2 separate regions of the Homo sapiens genome follow, and region 1 is linked to region 2. Evidence: promoter capture Hi-C in 16 types of primary human blood cells and fetal thymus (Javierre and others, 2016). All regions are on one chromosome and are shown on one strand. Each heading gives the region's core, a stretch centred on a gene start or on the middle of the fragment in contact. The rest is flanking DNA. Distances are from core to core; before and after follow the strand shown.

Region 1 (6,478 bases), core at 2,423-4,922, 470 kb after region 2:
CACTTTTTATTTGTAGTGCACTATACTTAGAGCTGTTGCCATAGGAATTGATATACCAGGCGTCATGGTGGTCAGCAGACAAATAGGAAACTCCTGTTATGTCGTCAGAATGAGTTGCAGAGAGTACCATCTGCTACCTGTATTGTACATCTTTCTGTTCCTCTGTCACGCCTGGCACAAGAGCAGCATTGGTTTAATCATCAGCAGCCCTTCTGCTCTCTGTAGTCAGGATTGGCAGTAACTCATTGGTGGGCAACACTGCCTTGGTCTTGCCGCTTGCACTGTGAACTGTAACTACGGACACACATGTCAGGAAAGAATGGTGCTTGGGATGCTCCTCCTATCTGTGCCTCAAACGTTTTCACTCGAGGGATATTAAAAAGTGGCCTACTGCTTATAAAGACTGTGTGTCAGTGAAGAGGAAGAGGTGGGAGTGGAGAGTGGGAGGCATTTGCAAGAACATATGTTGGATTCTTTTTTTCTCTTCTTGGTGACAATGATTGACGGCATCTAGTGAGTCCCTGTTTGTCACTTCCTTGGTACAGCTGGTAGTGGAGGTGGGGGAAATCAATAAGGGCTGGACAAAGGACATAGCTAGAGGAAGAAAGCACTGCAAATATGGTATTAAGATGACATTCCTCACAGTTGAATTTTTCACTGTGCTATTACTTCACACTACCTGCTGCGAGCTATTCTCTTTTGATCCTTTAGGCTGTAGAGGAATCAGTCTGTGTAACTCTCCCTCATTCACCACCTCCAAGAAAGGGTTAACTTTGGACATAAGATAACTGTAGTTTAAGGGGAGGAAGAGAAGGAAGGAAATTCATACTGGATACAGCTTTTGCCAGTTTTGTTTCTTCTATGTTGAAATATGGGCTGGCTTTATGGCATTCTCTTGGTGTTCTGGAATGTCCATTATTTAACAATTCCATATTGAATACTTGCTTGGGGCTTAGAAGAGGGAAGTCAAGTGTAGGAAGGAGTTGTGGCAATTTAAGTAAGTTTACAATGATCTTATTAAGCTTGTTGCTTTCATTTTCCTGCCTACGTTGGGGCAAAGACGTGTTAAAAGTGCAAGAACAGTGATTATTTTGTGGTTAGAGCATGTGCACAGTGTAGACAAACCCAGGAAGGAGAATCTGCTTCATCAAGTCTTAAGTTGTTATTTAGACCAAAATGTATGCGTAAGCCTCAGATGACTGTTGATGTGCCAGGAAACTTCTGCTGAGTACTTTCGGTTCTTTCTTCTTTACTTTACCTCTGCACCCCAGCTCATGGTTATCTTGTAAAACTGAAGGTGCTTTGCACTGCAAACAGACATGACAGCTCAGTCTCCCCTGTAGCAAGTTCTAGGGAAGGCAGGTTGGCAGAGTCCCATTTTTGAGCTCAGTTCTCCAAGGCCCTTTGGTCAGCTTATTTTCCTGCAGGGTGTCACATCCCACAGTAGTCTCCACCTGGAAGACATTGGATCTCATATGTTCAGATCAGTGTAGCCACGCTGCTCTGTGGAGAACAGTGTGATAAATCCTTGGTAGCATTACGCTTTAAACTGGTGGCCACTTGCCTACCTCCTTTTAATTTCATTTTGTTAACAATTGTTTCTTGAGGACCTGTTGCATGCTGGGTGCTTTTTTCCTGGGTGATTTCACATTTAGCATCTGTTTTCATTCTCATGACTTCTCTGTGAGGTAGCAAGTATTGTACCCAGTTTTCTGATAGAGGAAATTGTGGCCCAGAGAGATTGTTGTACCCCAAAGTAATGAAGATGAATACAGTTGCAGAACCAAGTTAGAAGCCAGATTTTTGGAGATCCAAGGTCCAGTGAACACAGCTGTACCCCCACAGACACTTCCGAAAGTGACCACAGCCTCTTCAGCCAGTCCTGAAGAGTATGTTCACCTTCATCTGTCTTAAAGCACAGGCACACCTGGCTTTGGGAAAGCATAGTTTATCAAGATCTGAATTGGCTCATTTTAGTTTTAGAAAAGGTTTCACCTAAGGCTTCTGCTTAAGAAGAGAGCATTCCTAGGAAGTGAGCTTAAGCCCTGTTCACCCTATTAATCTTAAGTGATTTGTCAGAGCAGAGTGGCAGAGAGGTGTCCTGCAGAGGTGACAACCTGAATTTAAATCACAGCTCAGCCGCTTACTAGCTGTGTAATCTTGAGCAAATTACTTAACTCTCTGAGCCTCTTCTTCCTTCTCTATTAAAGGGGAGTGATATCAATCTCATCAGATTAGTGTGAGAATACATTCATATAAGTGCCAAGTACCTGCTAAGTGCTAGTCCATGTGCTAAGTAAATGTGAGCTGCAATTGTTTGCCATTGGCATTATCAGTAGAGTGGGAGTCTCATTATAGCAGAAACCTGGCTCTCCTGAACATATGTAAATATTTACATAGCCCCTACTAAATGCCATTTAAGAGTGTATCTAGTGTAAGGCAATAGGATGTGTTTAGCAGGAGGAGTGGATTTGTTCAGGGGGTGCAACAGACTGGGATGGGAGAAGAAGGCATGTTTGATAGTCAAAATGCTGGCATACTTCCTGCGCAAGGAAGTCTGTATGGCTAAACAGTGCTGAACTAAACAAATACTGCTGAAGGTCAGGTGTGAACAGTGAATCATATTGGCGGGGCATGGTCTGGGATATGGTGGTGAGCAGTAAAAACTACAATAGCTACCATGAAAGGTACCTACTATATGCCAGGCACTGTTCTAGTGCTTTTCTCCTATTAGCCCTTGGAAGCAGTTCTATTATTATCCCATTTTGTAGATTAGGAAACAGACTCAGATTAATTCAGTTACCCAAGGGGCACGTAACTGGTAAGTGGCAGAGCTTTGGTTCAGTCTCAGGCGTCGAGCTCTGGAGTGTGTGTGTGTGTGTGTGTGTGTGTGCTTTCAACCATTGTGTTAGATGCCTCTCAAGACAGATAAGGTCCTTGCTATTGTAGAATTCACAGTCTAACTGAGTGAGCCAGTCAAACTAATAAGTATTATATCTAGTCTGCCAGGTAGTAATAAATGCAGTGAAGAGAAAATTGGGTGAGGAATTTTAGAGGATGATGGGAGTTGATGTTTTAGCTAGTGTATTAGTTTGTTCAGGCTGCCATAAACAAAATACCACAGATTGGGAGGCTTAAACAACAGAAATTTACTTTCTCACAGTTTTGGAGGCTGGAAATCCAAGAGCAAGGTGTCAATGTGTTTGGTTTCTTCTGAGGCCTCTGTCCTCGGCTTTGCAGATGGCCCTTTCACTATGTCCTTCTGTCTTCCCTCTATGAGCGTTCAGCCCTGGGAGCTCTCTGTGCCCTGATCACCTTTTCTTATAAGGACAGTAGCCACACCTAATCACCTCATTTTAACTTAACCATCTCTTTAAAGGCCCTGTCTTCAAATACAGTCTCATTTTGAGGTATTAGGGGTTAGGACTTCAACATATAAATTTGGGGAGGGGAACACAGTTCTGACCATAACACTCTGCCCTCTGCACCCCCAAAATTCATGTCCTCCTCACAGCAAAATACATTCACCTGCATTCAACAACCTAAGCCTTAACCCATTCTAGCATCAATTCTAAGTCCCAAATCTCATCTAAATATCATCTACATCAAAGTGAGAGAGACTCAAGTATATGATTCATCTTGAGGCAAAAATTCTTCTCCAGCTGTGAACCCGTGAAACCAGACAAGTTATTTGCTTCCAAAATACAATGATGGGGACAGGCTTAGGATAGACATTTCCATTCCAAAAGGGAAAACTTGGAAGGAAGAAAAAAGGGTCATGGGTCCAAAGCAAGTCCAAAACCTAGCTGGGCAAATTATGTTCAATTTTAAGGCCTGAAAATAATTCTTTTTACATGATGATCTGTCCTCCAGGCCCATTGGGCTGGCAGAATTTTTTTTTTTTTTTTTTCAGTATTTATTGATCATTCTTGGGTGTTTCTCGGAGTGGGGGATTTGGCAGGGTCATAGGACAATAGTGGAGGGAAGGTCAGCAGATAAACATGTGAACAAGGGTCTCTGGTTTTCCTAGGCAGAGGACCCTGCTGCCTTCCGCAGTGTTTGTGTCCCTGGGTACTTGAGATTAGGGAGTGGTGATGACTCTTAAGGAGCATGCTGCCTTCAAGCATCTGTTTAACAAAGCACATCTTGCACCGCCCTTAATCCGTTTAACTCTGAGTGGACACAGCACATGTTTCAGAGAGCACGGGGTTGGGGGTAGGGTCACCGATCAACAGGATCACAAGGCAGAAGAATTTTTCTTAGTACAGAACAAAATGGAGTCTCCCATGTCTACTTCTTTCTACACAGACACAGTAACAATCTGATCTCTCTTTCTTTTCCCCACATTTCCCCCTTTTCTATTTGACAAAACCGCCATCGTCATCATGGCCCGTTCTCAATGAGCTGTTGGGTACACCTCCTAGACGGGGTGGCGGCCGGGCAGAGGGGCTCCTCACTTCCCACACGGGGCGGCCAGGCAGAGGCGCCCCTCACCTCCCTCCCGGATGGGGCGACTGGCCGGGCGGGGGCTGCCCCCCACCTCCCTCCCGGACGGGGGTGGCTGGCCGGGCAGAGAGGCTCCTCACTTCCCGGACGGGGTGGCTGCCGGGCGGAGGGGCTCCTCACTTCCCAGACGGGGCGGCTGCGGGGCGGAGGGGCTCCTCACTTCTCAGATGGGGCGGCCGGGCAGAGACGCTCCTCACCTCCCAGACGGGGTGGCGGTCGGGCAGAGACGCTCCTCACCTCCCAGACGGGGTCGGGGCCGGGCAGAGGCAATCCTCACATCCCTCACATCCCAGACGGGGCGGCGGGGCAGAGGCGCTCCCCACATCTCAGATGATGGGCGGCCGGGCAGAGATGCTCCTCACTTCCTAGATGGGATGGCAGCTGGGAAGAGGCACTCCTCACTTCCCAGACTGGGCGGCCGGGCAGAGGGGCTCCTCACATCCCAGATGATGGGCGGCCAGGCAGAGACACTCCTCACTTCCCAGACAGGGTGGCGGCCGGGCAGAGGCTGCAATCTCGGCACTTTGGGAGGCCAAGGCAGGCGGCTGGGAGGTGGAGGTTGTAGCGAGCCGAGATCACGTCACTGCACTCCAGCCTGGGCAACATTGAGCACTGAGTGAGCGAGACTCCGTCTGCAATCCCGGCACCTCGGGAGGCCGAGGCAGGCAGATCACTCGCGGTCCAGAGCTGGAGACCAGCCCAGCCAACACGGCGAAACCCCGTCTCCACCAAAAAATGCAAAAACCAGTCAGGCGTGGCTGCGCGTGCCTGCAATCCCAGGCACTCTGCAGGCTGAGGCAGGAGAATCAGGCAGGGAGGTTGCAGTGAGCCGAGATGGCGGCAGTACAGTCCAGCCTCCGCTGGGCATCAGAGGGAGACCTTGCAAAGAGGGAGACGGGAGAGGGAGACGGAGAGGGGGAGGGGGAGGGGAGGGGGAGGGGAGGGGGAGGGAGAGGACTGGCAGAATTTCTTCAAGGCCCCAGGTGGCAGCCTTGCTTTTGAGGCCTTGGACAATGACAGCCTCACCCTCTCACACTGAGACAGAGAGAGCCTCACCCTTTGAAATGGAAGAGAGCCTTCCTCGCCCCTGGGCCTGAACACTTTCGTTGTGGGGTGAGAGTAGTAGCTTTAGGGACCATTCTTCCTTTTTCTTGAAGGATAATACATGCTCACACCCAGAGCCAGATAGATCTATTGTCCCATCCTGTAGCATCTCAGAAGCCTGCTGCTGTTGTGTCCTGTCTCTGTCCCCTTTAGTCCAAGTCAGCAGTGTTTCTGCTACTGGTAGAACCCCGTCTCTATTCCTGGCTTCTGTTGAGATGGCCAATTAGATCTGTGAGTCCCACTGTCACTCTTTAGGGAGTGATTGTCCAGTCACACTGTTGGTGCCCTCTCCAGAACACATTCTCATTTTTTTGCAATATGGATAAGCTGAGAATTTTCCAGATCTTTAAGTTCTGGTTTGTTTAGCCTAACAATTTTTTCTTTAATTTCTCTCACTTCTCTTGCACTTTAATAGAAGCAGTAAGGAGAAAGGAAAGTGGCAAGGAAAGCACAACAGGCTTTCAACACTTGGCTTAGAAATCTCAGCAGAATATCCAAGGTTGTCACTTACAAGCTCTACCTTCCACAAAACACAAAAATGCAATTCAGCAATGTTCTTGGCCATTTTATAACAAGGATTGCCTTTTTTCAGTGTCTAATAACATGTTCCTCATTTCTGTCTAAAATCTCACTAGAATCACCTTTCATGTCCATATTTCTAGCAACAGTCTCTCTTAGCATCTGAGACAACGTTCTGTGGAACACAGTTTGGGGAAGCTTGCCAAACTCAACAGATTATACTATATCATCTCCCCCTGAAAGAGAAGAGTGAGACATAAGTCCTCTGCAGTCTGTTCCACTCCTACTAGATCTTGAAGTCATATGTTGATTCTTTTCATGGTATTGTGTGCCTGTGTTTTAAGGAAAA
Region 2 (6,917 bases), core at 4,344-6,843:
GGGTCCATGTGGATCTGGGTGTAGGCTTAAAGGACCCCACCAATAGAACCTGGCCACCAGAGAGGTGGCCTCTTAAACTTTAGAGTTGTTTAATATATGGAGCATGGAGACCAACCCCTTGTTTGCCCAGGTCCAAGGATTGTACTGGTTGGAATGAATACCTGTGTGTATACTAAATTGCCAAGGATTAAGGCAGGATTAGTGTTCAGGAAGTGACATCAACTTAGGAGTCAATCAGGAAAGTTGTAGAGTGACCTGGAGGTCTGAGCATGCTAGCCACATCTAAGAGTAGTGGGTGAAATAACCTGATGAAAGGAGATTTATAGCAGTAGGTTTCAGGGAGGAGGGATGAAGAATGTTCTGGAAGTAGCAATGCAGAACAAGGACATCACCTTCCTATCTCCAGACACAAGTGATGCAAGCATTGGAGGGAAAAGTCAGCCATCACTTGAGAGGGTTGTGGGAGAGCAGCCTCTTAGGAGGGCAAGCCATACTTCCATGAGAATAGAAAGGTGAAGAGAATACTTGGAGATGAGGTTGAGGATATTGGGCATTTTGCTAACAGTGGACTTTGAAGTCCAGGAGGCATAGTCAGAGGGTTTCAGGAGCTGGATAGTGAGAAAGGGACAGAATACTGGATGTGCTGAGCCTTATGAGTATTAGAATGTAAGAGATGAGAAAAGCACTTGAGATTTTGGGGCTTCTTGTGTTCACTGATACAAGCAGGCATTAAGGGCTTAACAAGACGAACATTGGTAGACTCAAAACATACTGTTTTGACTCCCGCGGGCCACAGCCTGACACGGGCATGCCCCTACCCCCTGGCTCCCACAGCCACCTACCGGAGGCATGGCACAGGGAGGGCCTCGCCTCACTGTCACAGCAGCATGGCACAGCAAGATCAACTTCATGCTCGGTGCCAAAGCTGATGGCAAGACCATTCTAAAAGGCCTCCAGTCCATTTTCCAGGAGCAGGGGATGGCAGAGTCTGCACACCTGGCAGGTTAATGGCTAGTTAGCAACCTACAGACAGAAACACAAAAACAGCATCTTTGCCAATTTGAGAATTTACCTACATGGATTGGTGTTGCTGGACCTTCAGAGTTACAATGATGACTTGCAGGGCAAAGAAGAGATCGACAGCCTTTCAAACAATGTAGAAAAAAGAATGAAAGAATTGAGTCAAGACAGTACTGGGCTGGTGAAGCGATTACCACCTGTAGTTTGAAGAGGGGCCATCAACAGACATTGGTCCACCACCGATGGGCGCCTGGTTGAATATGACATAGATGAAGTGGTGTACAATGAAGATTCACCTTATTGGAACATTACAATTCTACACTAGAAGCAATTTGGAAATATTCTCATCCTTAGTAGGGATGTTGATTCGGCAGAGTGATTTGGCATATACCTGGGCCATCACGGGCAGCAGCAAAGCAGATTTCACTGGCAAAGAGGTACTGCTTCTCAGAGGCTGAGATGGGGGCATATTATGAGAAATAGTCAAACTAAAATCAAAGATGGTCACTATGGTAGAGATTGACCAAATGGTGATTGATGGATGTAAGAAATATATGCAAAAAACATGTGGTGATGTTGTAGACAATCTTAAAGGAGGCTGCTATCAGGCTCTGATAGAAGACTGCATTCCAATACTGAAGAGGCACACCAAAGAAGGGAGAGAATTGGATTGTGTGACTAACGATTTGACAGCTGTTCCAATCTCCACATCTCTGGAACAAGATTCCATGTGGGAGTTTCTCAGACTGATTTTTGACCCATGAATGAATGTATTGAAACAGGATGGGAAATATTTTACACAGGCAAACTGTGTCAATCTGACAGAAGCCCTGCCACTCTATGAAGAACAGCTTGGGTGCCTGTATTGCCTTGTGGAATTCTCAAAGGAGATCGTCTATGTCCCTTCAAACTTCGAATTGTGGGTATTTTACGCTGTCTGGAAGAAAGCTAAACCCTGAAGATGAATATCCCTTAATCACAGGTGCTGCAAATGGCCTTTTTCACTTCCATATGCTGTACATGACATTGAAACAAGTCAGGCAATTGATTGTGAATTCCTTGAAGTTTTCTTTTTAATTATTATTTTTAATTTTAAAAAGCAAATGGCAAATGTATATTTTGATGAGCTTAGGGTGTTTTTTTTTTTGAAAGCCAGCTGAAGGATGGTTCAACAGCACAGCAAAGACTGCCAAATGCACTAACACCCTAGAATGTGATTTTTGTTACTTTTTATTTCTCCGTGGGCTTTGTTTTTTTGTTTTGGTTGTGATAGACTTTCAATTTGGATGTTTGGAGGAATGAACATCATTGTTTTGTTCTGGAGGGAAGTTCTTGGTGGTGTTTCTTTCACCCAATATTGACTTAGATATTAAAATGTGGTGCTTATAAGACAGAGTTTAAAAAAAATGAATAGTAATACTTCGATTAAAATTACAAAAGAGACAAAAAATAGTTTTGAGTGTTGTGGAAGCTGAGTGTTGGGGTAAGAAGAGTAGGTGTCTGCACTTTGCTATAGACTCCTGATGATAGTGAGGAGAAGTGGAGAGCTGTGTGGACTTGGTCCAAGAGTATGGGGCTGTCTTCAGACATCTGCTGTGGAAGCCAGGTGTAACTCTGACTTTCCAGAGCATCTTACAAAACCAGTTCTCCAAAGCGCAGGCTTTGGAAAACCTTGCCCTGACTACTAAAAGAGGAAGAGCAACTGACATTTATTCTATACCCATTGTGTACTAGGCACTGTGCTTCTTGTGTATATTATAAAATATAACCACTATAGCATCTGTACTTAGTGTGAATTATTTTTATGAAAACCACTTTGCTGATGCGAAAACAGACCTCTCATGCTCATTAGGTGTCTTTCACAGCTTGTTTTTTAGCATCACAAGACGACACCCTGCATTGAGGAACAAAAGTCCTGAGGTGTAGGAGAGCAATGACTTTAGAGTACTGGGATTCTGTGGGGATGGAGGGTATACCCCTTTTCACTCCATCCGCTTCTACAAGACAAGTGTTTTCAGAAGAGAGAAAACATTTCATTATAATGAAGGCATGAATAAAACTAGTCTGAGTGCTGGATCCAAGGGGCCTGGGGCCAAGGTGTGTGCCAGGCAGGACCCTAGAACCAGAACTGCTTTAGAGGGCAAGTCCAGGAACCAGGGCACAACATCATCATGACACAATGTTTCATGTCCTCCAAAGACACAACGTTAAAATAGCCTTTTCCAGTGCAACCTGGTCTTAAATGGGATGTTTCAGGCAAAATCACAATCAGGGATTTTCCTAAAGGAGCTGTTACCTTCAAATGCATCAAGACACGAAAATCCAGAAGTAGAAAAATCAACCCACTTTAAAAAAATATCTTCCACGGACAAGATAGGAGAATAATTTAAGGAAGATACAGCATAGCATAAAGAACGTTGATCACGTTTAAAGTTTGTTTCATGGTTTTCTGAACTTCCATCACTTGGAGAAACAATCCATTATTCTGCAACAGTTTAGGGGAGGTTCTCAAAAAGGTAACCGTTTGAGAACTCAGTGAATTGCCAGCACATTTTGCAGTTGGAAGCTCAAATTTTTATAAATAACATGCGGGGAATCCAGATAGGATTTATTTTTTAATTTCACAATTGTATTTCCAATGCTGGATTCATAGGCACTTCCTTGTCATAGTAGCAGCACATTAATTTTAGCCTAAATAATTATTTAAATTATTTAACTATTTAAATTATTTAACTATTTAAATAATTATTTTACTAAGAAGAATCCACGAAATGAAAATGAGCACGTTCACTAATTTTCATATTGCCTGACCATCTCATAGCACCATGGTCACAGACTGCAAAGCCTCTCACCGGAACAAGACAGACCAGCAAGGAAGTGTAGGTTCAACAGCACATGAGAATCATAACTTTTAGTGCCAGAGTGTCTGAACCAGAGAGGAGGGAAAATGAGAGGCCAAGAGTTGTCTCCATTTTCTTCTCTTCACAGTATCCTGCATAGTGGCACAAATCGAACTGGAAAGCCCAAGCTAACAACACCGCCCTGGGCGAACCGCCTGTCTCCACCGGCTCCTCTGGGCAGGAGGCTCCAGCCTGGGGGTGCCTGACAGCTCTCCTTCCCCGGCGCCTGTATTATACATGTAACATTTATATTTCTATCCACACAGCGTTCATTCAGCCATCCATTCAATCACCCAGGCATATTTACACGGATGGAACACATTCGCGGAGAGATGTGTGTGTTTGAGTTCCAATCACTGCAGCCCGTATTGGCGCGGCGCTTTGTCTCGCTTTGGGTCACCACCACAGGAGCAACGATTTCGGGGACGGCACACGCCTGTGTGACCGCTTCCCACTCCACTTGGGTTCCGTGAGCGCGCGGAGCCGGAGGAGTCAGGGACGTGAGGATGCCCTACTTCCCGCAGCATCCGGATGGCAGGGTCTGCGTCGGAAGGCCCGGGAGGGCGACGCCCTCCACTGCTGCCGCGGGGTGGGTGCGCCAGGCCTGGGTGTGGCCTCACGGGAGCGAGTTTCTCTCCAGCCGCCTGGCCCACCGCTTTGGAACAGTGAAGCTCGAGTTGGGGTCTCCTGCACGCCAAGGGGAGAAATGTTTGTTTCTGACAACACAAGCAAAATTCTCTCTCCTGCACGCCAAGGGGAGAAATGTTTGTTTCTAACAACACAAGCAAAATTCTCTCTCTCTCTCCCTCTCTCTCTCTCTTCTCTCCTCTCTCTTTCTCCCTCCTCCTCCTTTCTTTCTTTCTCTTTTTCTTTCTTTCTTTCTTTCTTCCTCCTCCTCCTCTCTCTCTCTCTATCTCTCTCTCCACCCCCCCCCCCTCATATTTGGTTGTTTCCCCTCTAAGGGGCCACTTTCAATATCTGCCTGTGAGCCCAGCTGTCTGGCCCTATGTAGCATTGGGGAGACAGTAGACTTAACCCAGCGAAGTTTTCTTCTGTTTGCTCTTGCTGTGCCCAAGTTTCCTCTGGACTTGTCTTCCAGCGTCGGGGTGGGGGCTGGGGGAAGTAGGCAACCTAGCTCTGCCTGGTTGCTCCCTGGAAGCCAAGTCGAAGTGAACAAGTCAGTCCCAGGCCCGGAAATAGAATACAAACCCTCTTTTTGTCCGGTGCTAACAGAGTCCAGCAGTCAGAACTCCCTCGCGTCTCACGCTGGACCTGACCCGGGGCGCCGCCAAGTGCGCAACGCACAGTCACAGTTGGTGACTAATTAAGGACTGCCGCCCCTCTCCTTCACCTGCTACAAACTCAGAGCCCTGACTTCTCCAGAAGTACCTACCACTTGGAGGTGGCTCTCCTTCCCCGCCCCCTGCCCCAGTCCCACACCGCAGCAGCGCCTCAGCACCGCGACTTGCCGGAGCACCGCGAGTGGCGCGCGGGTCCCGCCTCCCCCGCGCGCCGTGACTCCCTGCGCACCGCTGGTACTCTCGCCACGCCGCCGCCCGGCACTGCAGCACCAGGGGGAGGAGGCAGGCGGAGGAGAGGAGGAGGACCGCAGCGTGCAAGCCGGGAGCCACTTTCCCGCCCCTCCTCTCGCCGCTGACACGCTCAGAGGAGTCACCACTCCGCGCGCTGCAGGCGAGAGTGGCAGACGGAGGCAGCCCGGGGAAGCGAGCCGGAGCGGCGCCCGCACTGAGGCGGCTGCAGTGCTGACACCACTCAGGGCAAGGGTGTCCGACGGCTGGAGCGGTGAGTGGGGGAGGTGAAGCGGGCATCCGCGGGGAGACTTTCCCCCGCTGCTGGATTTCTCTTCCCGACTGGTGGCCGGGCGCTGCAGCCTGGGGAAGTTTTTGCAGCCTTTCGGAAGCGCAACTTTGCCCCGCCTGCCCCCGGGGAAGCGGCTGCAGGTGCCCGCTGCTTTGTAGGCGCCTTTGTTGGAGAGGGACCAGGAAAGTAGGGGTAAAATAGATGCAGTGACCCCAGGGTTCGCTAGGGTAGGTCTGGGGACTGGGTCGCACTTTATCTGGGATTCCCAGAGGAGGTGGGTGGGCAGCAGCGGGGATGCAGGGGCCGCATCTGCAGCGACCGCCACGCTCTTTTTTGCTTGTGTGGTTTGACCGGCAGGGATAGGCAGATTCAAATCTAGCAGCCTAGAGCCCCGGGCTGGGTACCTGGACCTATACCTTCATAGCTGCCTTAGGCTCAACTTTTCGGCGGGGATCCCTCTGCAGACGTGCAGGTGGCGGGAGAGCAGAGGTAGCCGCAGTAAGTGCTGAGAGAGCCTGAAAGAAACACCATGAATTTTCAAACTCTCCCACATACATTCCCGAAGCGCCTGTCTGGCGTCTAAGAGAGAGCAAGAGAGGGCTGGAGAGCAGGGGAGCCCGCGGGGCTGAGGCTCTTTGTCAGCGCCTGCACTTCCTACGTTACAACGCCTTCATTCAGCAAAAACCTTTTGGGCGCCTGCTGTGCGCCAGGCCAGGCGAAGCAGACCCGAGGCTGTGAAGCTCAGAGGGGAGAGGGACCAATCGCAGTAAATAAGCTACCGAGGTAATCTTAGATGGCGATGAGGGCAGCAAAAGCCATCAGCCGACCCTCTGACCCTTTCTCTTAGTGGGCTTTTCCCCTTCCGCCTGGGTTCTAGAACTGGGAAGACTTTTCTCCAGAGCGTCGCGGGGAGCGCCCCGGGCTGGGCCCACGGGGACTGCGGAATACGGGGATGAACTTGGCTTGGGGCAGCCAGCACCCCACGGCAGATGAACAATCGGGAGCAGATCTGTGGGCGTGCGGGGACCTTAGGCGGCGCGCGGGGGCGGGGGGAGGGGCTGAGCCACGGGGGCTAGAGGTGCCGCCTGGACGGCCTGAGCTGGGGGCGCTCGCGTCACCTTCTACGTGTGCGAGTGATGCAAATGCAGACCCGCGAGGGGCGGGCGGGGGTGGCGG

What was found. The method cuts DNA at HindIII sites, captures the fragments that hold promoters and counts their contacts. A CHiCAGO score of 5 or more calls a contact.
Region 1: a fragment that was not itself captured here is called in contact with the fragment with the promoter of SV2C in region 2 in 1 of 17 cell types (naive CD4 T cells); the score reaches 5.8 in naive CD4 T cells.

Annotation. Positions count from the first base shown.
Region 1 is chr5:76,546,455-76,552,932 of GRCh38, forward strand. The region is part of intron 2 of IQGAP2 (IQ motif containing GTPase activating protein 2); the gene reads left to right. Among named protein-coding and RNA genes, the nearest start is that of F2RL2, 74 kb to the right of the region's middle. RefSeq lists an enhancer at 1,076-1,405. The HindIII fragment of the contact is 5,305 bases long and covers 1,021-6,325 here.
Region 2 is chr5:76,077,790-76,084,706 of GRCh38, forward strand. SV2C (synaptic vesicle glycoprotein 2C) reads left to right here and starts at 5,594. Exons shown (of 13, transcript NM_014979.4): 1 at 5,594-5,723. SV2C-AS1 (SV2C antisense RNA 1) reads right to left here and starts at 5,628. Exons shown (of 2, transcript NR_183290.1): 1 at 5,130-5,628; 2 at 3,617-4,607. It also overlaps the pseudogene LOC100132039. RefSeq lists an enhancer at 4,405-4,958. The HindIII fragment of the contact is 14,928 bases long and covers 1-6,917 here.